Regions from separate parts of the Homo sapiens genome. Here regions 1, 2 and 4 are each linked to region 3. Evidence: promoter capture Hi-C in human tissues and cell types (Jung and others, 2019). All regions are on one chromosome and are shown on one strand. The core of a region is centred on a gene start or on the middle of the fragment in contact, and the rest is flanking DNA. Distances in the headings are between cores, read along the strand shown. Region 1 has its middle 4.1 kb from the start of NAA40. Region 2 overlaps NRXN2 (neurexin 2). Region 3 holds the start of RPS6KA4 (ribosomal protein S6 kinase A4). Region 4 overlaps NRXN2 (neurexin 2).

Region 1 (3,308 bases), core at 31-2,530, 420 kb before region 3:
GTATGGGTGTATGGGGTTCCATTCCTGCCCCAGGCCTTGCCATCCATCCCATCTTATTTAATTCTCACAACCACCCCTAGAAGAAGATTTTACTGAAGATGAAGATGATTGCTACTGGTGGTCTCACTTTACAAATAAGGAAACTGAGTCTCAGAGATAGTAGGCAGCTTGCCTAAAGTCACAAGGCCAACAAGTAGCAGAAAGGAGATTTAAACACAGGTTGGTCCAACTCCAGAGCAGGCTCTGTCCACCACCCCACAAGAACAAGGAAGCCCTGAGCAGGAGAGATGGCCCATAATCAGGGCAGGCCTCAGACAGAAGGATGCTGCCTTGGGGCAGAAATAGGGCACTGGGCCTTTTCGGGCCTCTTGGGTGGCCTGGATGATGTCACCTCCCCCAAGGACTACTGGGCTCACCTCCCAGGCCTTGCCTGGTTTCCAGCAAATTCCAGCAGGCTGGGGGAGCAGGGAGCAAACCCAAGAGTGGGGCATGGCAGAAGGGACAGGGCACAGGGGATGGTGGTGGCAGTCATCTGTGCACTGAAACAGCTGACCATGAAGTTCCCTGTAGGTAAGGAGACCAGAAAAACCAAAACACAGTGGGGACTGTGCCGAGGTGGGGGTGGAGTCTCATCCCTCACCTTATCCACTCCCTCACACCGCCCTGGCTCTGCAAATCCTTTTCTGTCAGTTGAAATTTCCTTGCCTAGGCTGGGTGCGGTGGCTCACGCCTGTAATCCCAACACTTTGGGAGGCTGTGGTGGGTGGATCATGAGGTCAGGAGTTCGAGACCAGCCTGACCAATATGGTGAAACCCTGTCTCTACTAAAGATACAAAAATTAGCCAGACACAGTGGCACATGCCTATAGTCCCAGCTACTCAGGAGGCTGAGGCAGGATAATCGCTGAACCCGGGAGGGGAGGTTGCAGTGAGCCGATATTGCACCACTGCACTCCAGCCTGGGCATCAGAGCGAGACTCCGTCTCAAAAAAGACAAGACAAGAAAAGAAATTTCTAGGCCGGGCGTGGTGGCTCATGCCTGTAATCCCAGCACTTTGGGAGGCTGAGGCGGGTGGATCACGAGATCAGGAGTTCAATACCAGCCTGGCCAAGATGGTGAAACCCTGTCTCTACTAAAAATACAAAAACATTAGCCAGGCATGGTGGCGGGTGCCTGTAATCCCAGCTACTGGGAAGGCTGAGGCAGAGAATTGCTTGAACCCAGGAGACGGAGGTTGCAGTGAGCCAAGATTGTGCCACTGCACTGCACTCCAGCCTGGCGACAGAGCGAGACTCTGTCTCAAAAAAAAAAAAAAAAAAAGAAATTTCCTTGCCTCCTCTTCCTTCTTCAAAGATAAGCTTGGATATCCCTTCTTCCCAGCTGGCTACCCTCCTCCCACTCTCAGCTCCCTCTCCTGGTCCCTAGAGGGCTGGCAACCACAACAAATTTCCTGACCACACAATAGGGCTGTCAGGCCAAAGATTCACTCATTCCAGTCTAACTGCATTCCCTCCACGGCCTCATCCAGTCTCACAGCTTTTTTTTTTCTTTTTGTGGTAGAGACAGGGTCTCGCTATGTTGCACAAGCTGGTCTTGAGCTCCTGAGCTCAAGGGACCCGTCTACCTCAGCCTCCCAAAGTGCTGGGATTACAGGCGTGAGCCACCACACTCGGCCTCAGTCTCACAGTTTTATTAATTTATTTATTTTAAAAAATCAAATTTGATTTTGTCTTTTCTATTTATTTTATTATTATTATTATTATTGAGAGGGAGTCTCGTTCTGTTACCCAGGCTGAAGTGCAGTGGCGCAGTCTCAGCTCACTGCAACCTCCGCCTCCTGGGTTCAAGCGATTCTTCTGCCTCAGTCTCCCGAGTAGCTGAGATTACAGGTGCCTGCCACCATGGCCAGCTAAGGTTTTTTTGTACTTTAGTAGAGACGGGGTTTTACCATGTTGGTCAGACTGGTTTCAAACTCCTGACCTCAAACGATCTGTCTGCCTCAGCCTCCCTAAGTGTTGGGATTACAGGCGTGAGCCACCATGCCCGGCCAGTCTCACAGCTTTAAATATTATCTATTCACCGACTGTGCTGAAATTGTTATCTCCAGCGTGGACCCCTCTCCTGAGTTCAACTCTGACTACCCCACGTCTCCACCAGAACGTCTAAAAAGCACTCAGACCTGATGTGGCCAAAACAGAATCCTGATCTTCCCTATACTCAAGCCAGCTCCTTTCAAAGTCATCCACATCTCAATTGAAGCCACTCCATTTTTCTAGCAGCTCAGGCTAAGTAGCTTGGCTCTGATCCTTCCCTCACACCCCACACCAAATCTGCAAGTCCTGTAGGCTCTACCTTCAATGCCCTTCTCCCACCTCTGCCGCTGCTCAACCGTGGAGGCTTCATCTGTTGCCTTGATTATAGCAGTGGCCTCTGGACACTGTCCTTCTTTTTTTTTTTTTTTTTTTTTTTGAGACAGAGTCTTGCTCTGTCGCCCAGACTGGAGTGCAGTGGCCTGATCTCGGCTCACTGCAAACTTCGCCTCCCATGTTCAAGCAATTCTCCTGCCTCAGCCTCTCGAGTAGCTGGGATTATAGGCACCTGCCATCACGCCTGGCTAGTTTTTGTATTTTTAGTGGAGATGGGGTTTCACTATGTTGGCCAGGCTGGTCTCAAACTCCTGACCTCAAGTGATCTGCCTGTCTCAGCCTCCCAAAGTGCAGGGATTACAGGCATGAGCCACCACCTTGCCCAGCCTGGACTGTCCTTCCTTTGACCTTGTCCCTACATTCTCATCTCAACCCAGAAGCCAGGGTGGTTCTAGGACCTCCTCTGCCTGCAATGCCCTTTCCCCAGACGTCCTCATTACTTGCTCCCTCACCTTCAGATCTTGACTCAAGTATCACCTCATGTTTGCCTTTCCTGAGCATCCTAGTTAAAACTATAAATCTCTCTCTTTTTTTTTTTTTTGAGATGGAGTTTCATTCTTGTTGCCCAGGCTGGAGTACGACGGTACAATCTTGGCTCACTGCAACCTTTGACTCCCCACTTCAAGTGATTCTCCTGCTTCAGCCTCCCGAGTAGCTGGGATTACAGGCATGTGCCACCACACCCAGCTAATTTTGTATTTTTAGTAGAGACAGGGTTTCTCCATGTTGGTCAGGCTAGTCTTGAACTCCTGACCTCAGGTAATCCTCCCGCCTTGGCCTCCCAAAGTGCTGGGATTACAGTCGTGAGCCACCGTGCCCGGCCTTTTTTATTTATTTTATTTTATTTTATTTTATTTTATTTTATTTTATTTTTCGAGACA
Region 2 (3,678 bases), core at 887-3,386, 300 kb after region 3:
ACACATGCACCTCCACACACCAACACACAGACTGCTGTTTAGACTGAGCAGAGCAGTGGGGGGCAGCTGCGTGCATGGACCAGGCCTTCCTCATCTCTGTATCTGCCACCACACTGAGCTCAGGCTTAGCACCCACTAGGCGTCAGCAAGTGCTTCTCAAATGAATGAACCAATGAATGAGCAAGTGGATGAGCCATTGACCAAAAATGAGCTGTGTCATCTGTGTGTGTGCAGGACAGATGCTACCAAGATCCACATGAGTCACCAGGGAGGACAGTTAGCATACCCCAGATACTCTGGGTCTTGCCCCTCACAGTGTCGTCGAGCATGGAATGTCGCCCTACACTGTGCGTCCTCACCAGGGACAGAGCTCTCAGGGTCTCTGACCCAGGCTGGCGCCTCCCCACCTCCAAACTCTGCTGAGGGCACCTCTTGCTGGTGCCACCACCAGCTTCTCCAGACAGAGGCAGGTGTGGGTCAGAGACAAGGCCAGGTGAGGGGTCAGGAAGCACAGGGCAGGGTGGTTACCGAGGTTGACAGTGAGCTTCATCTGCCCCCCATCCAGCTCCAGGCGTAGGGTGTCGGCAGACTCCCTGGAAGTGGTGGCCATCATGAGTCCGTAGGCCCGCTGGGACATGAAACGCAGGGACACATCCTCTGCCTCCGTGTGCATGGCGTTAGGCAGCATGATCTTCATGTACATGGAGCCATCGTAGCTCAGGACCGTGGCCTCTGCCCACAGGAGTTGGGGAAGAGGGAAGGAGAAGACAGGCAGAGGCCAGGGGAGGGAGAAGACCAGAGAATCATTACAAGGGCGAAAAGCCTAGGGCAGGTCTATGAGGGGTTCCCCTAGGAGGAGGTGGCACAGGGATGGAAAGTAGGAGTCACCCTGAGAAGGAGGAGCACAGGGATAGGGAGCAGGGACACCTAGGATGAAGACCAGCCTCACCTCTCTCACAGACCCGCCCAAGAAAGCCGGTCCCGATGCAGTCACAGATGAAGCGGTTCCAGCCTTCTCGACAGACGCCCCCATTGCGACAGGGGGCAGATGCACACTGCTTCAGCGTCTCCCGGGAGCAAAAGGGGGCAACGCCCACAGCCCCCTGAGCCTCAGCCAGGCCCCGGAGGTCTCGGCTACGCCCATCTATGAAGAGGTCCCGCACACAGCCCACGTAGCCTGCCCGGAGTGCTGCTGTCCACACCTCTGGGGGCAGGGGCAGGTCCACCCGGCCCCCCTCAGGGAGACCGCCCAGGTACAGCTCACTCTCCAGGTCCAGAATCTCGCTGTCTCCAGTGGCCAAGAACGGCGTGCTGCGACTATTCACTGAGATGGAGCCTGGGAATCAAGGGAAGGCAGGATGGAGAAAAGCCACAGGCCAGAAAGGGACATCCTGACTCTGCCAAGAAGGCCCCCCACCTTGTGTGGGCCCCTCCACCTTGTGCCCTGCAGCAGGCTCAGGAGGACGAGCAGCAGTCCTGGGCTGGAAGCTCGGCCTCACTCACTGCAAAAACTGCTTGACAAAGGCCCCCAGGCTCAGAGGCTTCTGTGACGCAGCCCCAGCCCAGCTGCAGAATGCTGTGGGCCTCTGTCCATACCCCTCCTCCCCACCTCAGCAAGTCCTCAGAGGATAGGCAGGAAGTGGGCATGCCGAAATCTTGAGCTCGGAAAGGGTTGGATCATTCACTGGGTCATTCCTGCCAGCCAGTTCCTTAGACTGGGAACCGGAAGCAGAGAACCTCAAGGAACAGAAGGGGCTGAAAGATCTTTAATCCAAAGGAGTTTTTTCCCCCCACAAACATTTATTGAGCTTTTATGACTAGATGCCAGGCACCTAGCACTTTAAATATATTATATCACTTAAGTCTCATAATAACTCTACGAAATCAGTCCTTTATGATCCCATTTTGAAATGGTAGACGAGGCTTGCAGAGACTGGGGAACAGTGCCAAAGCGCCACAGTGGGGAAGGAACACAGCCAAAGTATGGTCCCAGCAGCAAGAACTCAGAGCCTGCACTCTCCACCCCTCAGCCAAGAGCCCACTCTGCGGCCAGCAAGGTGCACAAGCAGATTGGCTCCAGGGCCTGCGGGGCAGGACAGCAGTGAGGAGAAAGGAGGTAGGCACAGAATTTTTAGGTAGAAGAGTTCTTCAGAAGTAGAGGGTGCTTGGCCGGGCATGGTGGTTCACGCCTGTAATCCCAGCACTTTGGGAGGCCGAGGCGGATGGATCACTTGAGGTCAGGAGTTCAAGACCAGTCTGGCCAACATGGTGAAACTCCATCTCTACTAAAAAAAAAAAAAAAAAATTAGCCGGGTGTGTTGGCACAAACCTGTAGTCCCAGCTACTCGGGAGACTAAGGCAGGAGAATCACTTGAACCCGGGAGGCAGAGGCTGCAGTGAGCCAAGATCATGCCACTGCACTCCAGCCTGGGAGACACAGCGAGACTCCATCTCAAAAAAGAAGAAGAGAAGAAGGGAGAAGAAGGAGAAGAAGAAAAGGAAGAGGAGGAGGAGGAGGAAGGAGGAGGAGGTGATTATCTTAGAAAAAAGACTTGGGATCTGGTAGGAGTTCCATAGCCTTTACTGAGACCTTAAGCTGCAGAAACCTATACCTTAGAAATTTTATTCTACTTGTATTTTTAAATTCCTTCCTCTGTCCTTTTTCAAGTTTGGAAGAACTGTTTAAAAGGGGTCGGGGCCGGGCACAGTGGCCCACGCCTGTAATCCCAGCACTTTGGGAGGCCGAGGCGGGTGGATCACAAGGTCAGGAGATCGAGACCATCCTGGCTAACACGGTGAAACCCTGTCTCTACTAACAAAGACAAAAAATTAGCTGGGCGTGGTGGCGGGCGCCTGTAGTCCCAGATACTCAGGAGGCTAAGGCAGGAGAATGGTGTGAACCCGGGAGGCAGAGCTTGCAGTGAGCCAAGATCGTGCCACTGCACTCCAGTCTGGGCGACAGAGCGAGATTCTGTCTCAAAAAAAAAAATAAATAAATAAATAAAAGGGGTCAGGGTGGGAGTTGAGTTCAATCTCTCTCCTCACGCAAGACCCCATTGCAGACATCCTAGTTAGAAAAAAAAAAGACTCTGCCTAACTTCATGGGGTTAAAGAGAGGTTAAGGAGGGTTTGGGTCTGCATGAGGCCTGAATTTGGCAGGGAGCTTTGGGAGGAGAATCAATGTGAGCACAGGGTGGGAACCCAAGAGGGAAGAACTGGGACCTCCTCTACAGACACATCCCCTCATTCAGGACGTGTTCCTCTCTGCTCAAAACCTCACCTGAGGCCGGGCGCAATGGCTCACACGTGTAATCCCAGCACTTTGGGAGGCTGAGGCAGGAGGATCGCCTGAGGTCAGGAGTTTGAGACCAGCCTGGCCAACATGGTGAAACCCCATCTCTACTAAAAATACAAAAATTAGCCGGGCATGGTGGGCATCTGCAATCCCAGCTACTCAAGAGGCTGAGGCAAAAGAATCGCTTAAACCTGGGAGGCAGAGGTTGCAGTGAGCTGAGATCATGCCACTACACTCCAGCCTGGCAGCCTGGGCGACAAGAGCAAAACTCTGACTCAAAAAAAAAAAAAAAACCTCACCTGAACCAGAGCTGTGCCCTCTTTTAGTAACATGGTCCCTAGCTTTTCTCTCCATACAAGGTGTCAGATGACCCATGGTCCTGA
Region 3 (3,673 bases), core at 81-2,580:
TTCTCTCTGTTCACATCCTCCTCCTACTCATCTCCCCTCCCTCCTTGAGGTTGAGCCCCCTCCCCAGGGAGTTCTCAGCCTGGCGGGGCATCACTTAATGCCAGGGGTTGCCAGGAGAGGTGGGAGGGACGCTGGCTCTCTGACCAGGGCCTCTAGCCTGATGCCTGAGAGGCGGGGCAATTCGGCTGGGGTGCAGGATGTGAGTCAGGGTACCTGGGGCCACCCAGGGGAGGGTGGAGCTGCCCAGGGCTGAGATAAGGCAGCCTGAACTTGGGGGGTGCAGAGCTGGGAGGGACGGTCCGTCCGGCCTCCCAGGTGTGACCTGCAGCAGCTTGAGTTCCTCCTCCTCTCAGCCAGGGCTTCACAGGACAGGGGCGTGGGGTGGACACCCTGGCCTCTCCAGCTGGCAGAGGAGCTGAGAGCCCCTCCCACCGGCCTCAGGGTGTGGGGCCTCATGGCTGTCCCACTCTGCTAGGTGGCCCCATTGGTGGTCAGGAAGGGAAAGGCAGGAAGAAGACGGAGCAGGGGCTCAGGAGGACCAGTCAGCAGGGGCCCTGGGCCTCATGGGGAGAGGGGGCAGCCCCGTGTGGCACTGACATCTCTTCTTGAGGCCTGCTCAGGGCTCTAAGCTGGGTACTGCACCAGGCTAGGAGACAACAGGAGCAGAACACGTGAGGTGCGCATGGCACCTGGTGGGCTCTGCACGGTGACTGGGGGCTGAAGTGCTTCTGCAGGCACCCCCGACAGAAAGCTGGTCAGAAAACTGGCCACTCCTCTCCTTGCCATGGGGTCCCAGGCCGGGCTCCAGCCCCCTCTTGGTGATGAGGCTCCTCCTTGCAAAGGCCAGTCCTCTGGGGAGAGGGGCCCTGCTGGCCACCCCCAGGACGATGGAGTGGGGTGGGCTCCACTGCCTGAGAGTTGGGTGACTTCCAGGATCCAGACCCCCTCTCAGCCTGCCCAGCACCAGGCACCTCGTCCCCCACCTTGGGGCACAGACTCCTAATGTCCTCCAGCCACTGGCTGCAGCCGGCATTCCCGGGCAGATTCCTGGCTTGGGGACTAATGCCCCAGAGGCTCCAGGTTACCCACGGGCTCAGGGATGGCTCCCACGGGGTGTTTCCAGTTCCCGGGAGAGTCGAGTAAGGTCCCGGAGCGCACGGCCCTGAGGCCTGGCCTGGGGGCTCGGGAGACAGGGCGGCCCCAGCCGGCCGCCCACCGGCAGCCCGGCGCTGTCACGTTCCAGCCGCCTGACTCAGGCCGCGCAGGGCGGGGAGCCGGGAGGCGGTGCCGGCGCCCGCCTCGGCCCCGGAGGCGGCACCAGGAAGCGCCCGCCCCGGCCGGAGCCGCCATGTAACCGGCGCCGCCCGGAGCCCGAGCCGCGCGGGCCCCAGCGACCCGCCCGCCATGGGGGACGAGGACGACGATGAGAGCTGCGCCGTGGAGCTGCGGATCACAGAAGGTGGGTGTGGGGCCTGACTGCGGCTGCCCGGGGCAGGCCGGGACGGGTCATGGACCGGCTGGGCTCATTCGCCCCCTGTGCCCACAGCCAACCTGACCGGGCACGAGGAGAAGGTGAGCGTGGAGAACTTCGAGCTGCTCAAGGTGCTGGGCACGGGAGGTGAGGACCCCCATCCACCGGGCAGGCGTCCCAGGCGCGGTGCCCCTGACCTCCTGCCTGCTCACTCTTGGGCCTGGGCCAGGCCACTGAGCAGGCCCCCCACCCTTTCCCGGCACAGCCTGCCTTGCCTGCCCCGCCCTGCCTCGCCAGAGTTTGCATGCCCACTTCCAGGGCACTCCACATTGACATCACTCCTCCCTCCACGGTCCTGTGCGTGCATACCCCCCTGGATTTGCCAACACCCTGGGGAGGGGGACTGGCGCCCCTCTCAAGTGATTTGCATAGCTCCTCCCTTTCTTCCAATATGGGATCCCCCTCCCACATTTTGCAAATGCCCCAGCGCTGGTTTGCGCATCCCTTCCCCAGCCAGGTGCACACCTCTGCCTCCCTTCCTTGCACTGGCATCTTTTCACATCCATCTGATCTCTCGCAGGTTTGCATATGCCCCGCCCCCATGCCTCGCAGCAGGCCCCCTGGAGATGCATGCTCCCCAGCCTGGTTTGCACATCCTTTCCCTGGTTTTGCTGGGCACCCTCCCGGGGTGTGCACACCCTTTCCTTAGAAGGCTCTGCCAGCTTTTTGCACACCTGCCTGTTGCCCCAGCTCCTTCGCCTCATTTGCACACCCTCCTGGGTTGGCATCGCCCCCACCCCCCAAGCCTGCACCAATCTCCCGCTCACAGCCCACCCTCCACCCACTCGCTGCTCCCACAGCCTACGGCAAGGTGTTCCTGGTGCGGAAGGCGGGCGGGCACGACGCGGGGAAGCTGTACGCCATGAAGGTGCTGCGCAAGGCGGCGCTGGTGCAGCGCGCCAAGACGCAAGAGCACACGCGCACCGAGCGCTCGGTGCTGGAGCTGGTGCGCCAGGCGCCCTTCCTGGTCACGCTGCACTACGCTTTCCAGACGGATGCCAAGCTGCACCTCATCCTGGGTGAGCGCACACCACATCCCAACGGGGTTGGGGTGGCTGGGGGCAGGCGAGGCCACCTGACGGGGCTGCTTCCTGACTTCCACTGCACCTCCCAGACTATGTGAGCGGCGGGGAGATGTTCACCCACCTCTACCAGCGCCAGTACTTCAAGGAGGCTGAGGTGCGCGTGTATGGGGGTGAGATCGTGCTGGCCCTGGAACACCTGCACAAGGTGGGTGAAGACCTGGCCGCAGGCTGTTGCTATGGAAACTGGGTCTGTGCCTTGGAAGGAATCTGCACGCAGGGCAGCCTCAGGCTTCCCCCTGGGCTTCCTGGGGGGCCAGTGGTGAGCTGGGTGGGAATTGGAGCTGCTTCCCCTGGACCCCTTGCAGGAAGCCTCAACGTTGCCTGGTGGGGTCCCCTCCCCTGGCACCTCCTCGAAGGGGCTTTCCTCTTTCAGGGAACTCGGGGCTGCGTTCACAGAACTTCCTCAAATGGAAACCTCACGGCCTGGCTCCTAAGGCCTCCTTGAAATGGAGCTCTTCACACAGACTTTCCTCTCTCTGGGACCTTGGGGCCTGATCCACGGGGCCCTCCTTCTTTGTTTTATATCTTAAATGGCCTTTCTTATTCAGTGGCTCTGCCCTGGAGACCCCCTCTACAGGCAGATGACTTTCTCTGGGGGGTCTCCTTATCCTGAGCAGGGCCAGGAGCTGGAGGAGCTGGGGAGGGTTTCGGGGAGGAAGCCTCAGCACCCCTCTTGCTCCTACCAGCTCGGCATCATTTACCGAGACCTGAAACTGGAGAATGTGCTGCTGGACTCCGAGGGCCACATTGTCCTCACGGACTTCGGGCTGAGCAAGGAGTTCCTGACGGAGGAGGTGAGTGGAGGCCACCTCTGCCTGCAGTGCCCCATTCAATCCTTCTCCTTCCTGCCTCTTCCTGCTCTGGGCCTGCATTCTGGGGCTGCAGAAGTGAATAGCTCCAAGAAGTTTCCACAGCTCAGCTCTCCAACCTCACAAGTTGAGCGAGTCTTACTCTGGGCCTTGTGGGGCACTGGGGCACAGGAGAGGTTTCGACATCTAAGCAGGACCTCTTGCCCTCCCAGAAAGAGCGGACCTTCTCCTTCTGTGGCACCATCGAG
Region 4 (3,356 bases), core at 243-2,742, 350 kb after region 3:
AACCCCGTCTCTACTAAAAATACATTAGCCAGGTGTGGTGGCGGGCGCCTGTAGTCCCAGCTACTCAGGAGGACGAGGCAGGAGAATGGCGTGAACCCGGGAGGCAGAGCTTGCAGTGAGGCAAGATCACGCCACTGTACTCCAGCCTTGGAGACAGCGAGACTCCGTCTCAAAAAAAAAAAAAAAGAAAAATGAGTCTAAAGGTTAGGTACTCACCTAATGTCATGGGCCTAGGGAGTAGAGAAGACAGATTTAAACCCAGACCAGAGCCACAGAAGTCTGTGGTTTAATCACTAAGCCACACTGCTTTACTGCATCTCTGGGCCACACACTATTGTGCTGTTTTTTTGCTACTATGTATTGAGCATTTTCTATGTACCAGGCACTGTTCTAAGCACTTTACATGAACTAGCTAATTTAATTTTCACAACAACTCTATAAAGTAGGTACCATTATTATCTTCATTTATAGATAAGGAAATGGGGGCAAAGAGAGTTTAAGTATAAAGTCACTGCCTGGGCAGTCTGGAGGCAGAATCTCTTAACAACACACTGGACAGCTTTTTTATCTGCTTCCTCAATTTAATAGTCAACTCCCAGACTGGGTGTGGTGGCTTACACCTGTAATCCCAACACTTTGGGAGGCCAAGGCAGGCGGATCACCTGAGGTCAGGAGTTCAAGACCAGCCTGACCAACATGGAGAAACCCCATCTCTACTAAAAATACAAAATTAGCCAGGCGTGGTGGTGCATGCCTATAATCCCAGCTACTATGGAGGCTGAGGCAGGAGAATCACTTTGCTTGAACCCGGAAGGCAGAGGTTGTGGTGAGCCAAGATTGTGCCATTGCACTCCAGCCTGGGCAACAGGAGCGAAACTCCGTCTCAAAAAAAAAAAAAAAGTCAACTCCCAGAGCACAGAGTCATCTTATTCATCTCTGACCACACTGTAGCCCCCAACACACAGCCTAGCACAAAAGAGGCCTTGGCAACTACCTGTTGAATTAAATCACTATCACAAAACACATGAGACACGTGTGTCTACCTCCCTGCAAGCACACACATTACGACTAGTTTCCTATTTTTCTCCTGAGCAAATAGTATACACCTGACACTCTGTCCTGAACACCTGCATCATCACTCCACCTGAGGTCTCACACACATGCCTGCACATCCCTTCTTCTTTAATCCCTTTTTAGCCCCTTCTCCACACACACAGGTGACATGAGGAAGCACTGTCATGCAAACCACTGCAAGATCCCAGTCTACTCTATCCCAGCTTTGGCAGATAATCAGCAACGGTAGACAGACTCAGCCACTCCCACTGAGCTCTGTCTTCAATTACGTGTGGCCAGATCTCTGAGAGAGAGAGAGAAAATGCAAATTTCCTAGCATGGAGGTTCTCCGTCAATGAGTAAGCCCAGACCCTGGGAGAGCAGGAGGGATTCCAAAGGATACACAAATTCGTATGCACACCAAACATCTGAAGGCAGATTGAAACATCTTGCATATAAAGCTAAAACCATTTTTCTAATGTATATTTTATTAACCACAATGGCAAATATAATATCAAAGTCATCTAAAAGCTTTTCCAAATTCACAGTGGCTTTGAGTCATTTATACTCACACTAAACAGATATAAAAATAATAACTGGAAGGGGTACTGTGAATTACTGACTTTTAAAAATGTCCTCAGTTGGCCAGGCGCAGTGGCTCACACCTGTAATCCCAGCACTTTGAGAGGCCAATGCGGGCGGATCACTTGAGGCCGGGAGTTCGAGACCAGCCTGACCAACATGGTGAAAACCCGTCTCTACTAAAAATACAAAAATTAGCTGGACATAGTGGCGGGCGCCTGTAATCCCAGCTACTCAGGAGGCTGAGGCAGGAGAATCGCTTGAGCCCAGGAGGTGGAGATTGCAGTGAGCTGAGATCGTGCCATCGCACTCCAGCCTAGGCACAGAGCGAGACTCCATCTCAAAAAAAAAAAAAAAAAAAAAAAGTCCTCAGTCTCAGAAAGAGTTGGGAACCATTCACAACAGATGATAAAGTGATTATAACTCCAAGGAAGCCTGGGGATTCTGACCCCTAGAGTTGTGTCAGAGAGCAGGAGCCAGGCCTGCTCCCCTTAAAGTCTTCCTTCCTCACCCCAATACCCAACCATGGGAGCCCATGCCTTTCCTCCTTGACTGGATGAGAAAGTACTCGAAGTATAATGAGCACAAGATATTATAAAAGCTACCTAGGAAATAAGGAACAAATAGAAGAAGAAATGAGGTTGCAGAGTGGGGAGAGAAAAGAAGGGAATCAGTAGGGTTATTGCTGTGCCTGTCATCTCCAGATGCAATCAGTGCCTACAACCCCCATGCCCACCCACAACATATATCTGAAAATATATACATACATGTTTTCATATGTACATACAGCTTTGCCTCAAGCCTTTATTCTCTCAATTACTTATTAATATCTCTCCATTCATTCCACAAATCTTTATCAAACACCCACTAAGTGCCTGGTACCAGATTAGGTGCTGGGAATACAGAAATGAATAAAGACACAACCCTCCCCCTTTACCACAAAGCACTGCTCTCTCAACAGATACCACACACACATCACACACACTCCACATATACACAAGCAACCCTGCCCCTACCAGCTGGCGCCCGCCTTATATCTCACTTTCCCTTTTCTTCTTCCTTTTTTTTTTTTTTTTTGAGATGGAGTCTCACTTTGTCACCCAGGCTGGAGTGCAGTGGTGCCATCTCAGCTCACTGCAACCTACACCTCCCAGGTTCAAGCAATTCTCCTGCCTCAGCTTCCCAAGCAGTGGGGATTACAAGTGCCCGCCACCATGCCTGGCTGATTTTTGTATTTTTAGTAGAGACGGGGTTTTACCATGTTGGCCAGGCTGGTCTCGAACTCCCGACCTCAAGTAATCTGCCCGCTTCAGCCTCCCAAAGTGCTGGGATTACAGGCGTGAGCCACTGCACCTGGCTCACGTTTCTTTTTCTTACATGACTCTCTCTCACACACACACAGACACACACACACACAATGGGTCAGATACATATATTCAACCATCTCTCACAGCTTCACCACAGCTGACACAAACATTCATCTGATACCAAGCCATATTATACACACAGCCATCCCTCTCACACAGTTACTCAAACACATCTTAGACACACAACCACACAACCCGTATTCAGAAGCATGCACTTGTTTGCCTCACTGGAAGCCTCTGGCCAATGAATCCTCTCAGGGAATGGATACAAAGGCTCTGGTTGACCAAGGTGCCTCTGGCTGCATTTTTCACACACCCAAGCCCAATTCAGCCACAGTGAGGCCAGGGACCGGT

What was found. The method cuts DNA at HindIII sites, captures the fragments that hold promoters and counts their contacts. A contact is called where the count stands out against the background at its distance.
Region 1: a contact is called between a fragment that was not itself captured here and the fragment with the promoter of RPS6KA4 in region 3, in 3 of the 25 tissues and cell types used here (adrenal gland, pancreas and spleen).
Region 2: a contact is called between a fragment that was not itself captured here and the fragment with the promoter of RPS6KA4 in region 3, in 1 of the 25 tissues and cell types used here (dorsolateral prefrontal cortex).
Region 4: a contact is called between a fragment that was not itself captured here and the fragment with the promoter of RPS6KA4 in region 3, in 5 of the 25 tissues and cell types used here (IMR-90 fibroblasts, dorsolateral prefrontal cortex, hippocampus and 2 more).

The regions. Positions count from the first base shown.
Region 1 is chr11:63,933,247-63,936,554 of GRCh38, forward strand. No RefSeq gene overlaps it. Among named protein-coding and RNA genes, the nearest start is that of NAA40, 4.1 kb to the right of the region's middle. The HindIII fragment of the contact is 5,818 bases long and covers 1-3,308 here.
Region 2 is chr11:64,659,804-64,663,481 of GRCh38, forward strand. It overlaps NRXN2 (neurexin 2), which reads right to left. Exons shown (of 23, transcript NM_015080.4): 10 at 950-1,336; 11 at 529-732. Among named protein-coding and RNA genes, the nearest start is that of NRXN2-AS1, 18 kb to the left of the region's middle. RefSeq lists an enhancer at 1-885. The HindIII fragment of the contact is 5,556 bases long and covers 1-3,678 here.
Region 3 is chr11:64,357,832-64,361,504 of GRCh38, forward strand. RPS6KA4 (ribosomal protein S6 kinase A4) reads left to right here and starts at 1,331. Exons shown (of 17, transcript NM_003942.3): 1 at 1,331-1,459; 2 at 1,547-1,618; 3 at 2,332-2,550; 4 at 2,646-2,761; 5 at 3,303-3,410; 6 at 3,638-3,673. The coding sequence starts at 1,405. RefSeq lists a silencer at 1,117-1,606 and enhancers at 1,356-1,883, 2,617-2,726. The HindIII fragment of the contact is 21,233 bases long and covers 1-3,673 here.
Region 4 is chr11:64,707,214-64,710,569 of GRCh38, forward strand. The region is part of intron 2 of NRXN2 (neurexin 2); the gene reads right to left. Among named protein-coding and RNA genes, the nearest start is that of NRXN2, 14 kb to the right of the region's middle. The HindIII fragment of the contact is 7,389 bases long and covers 1-3,356 here.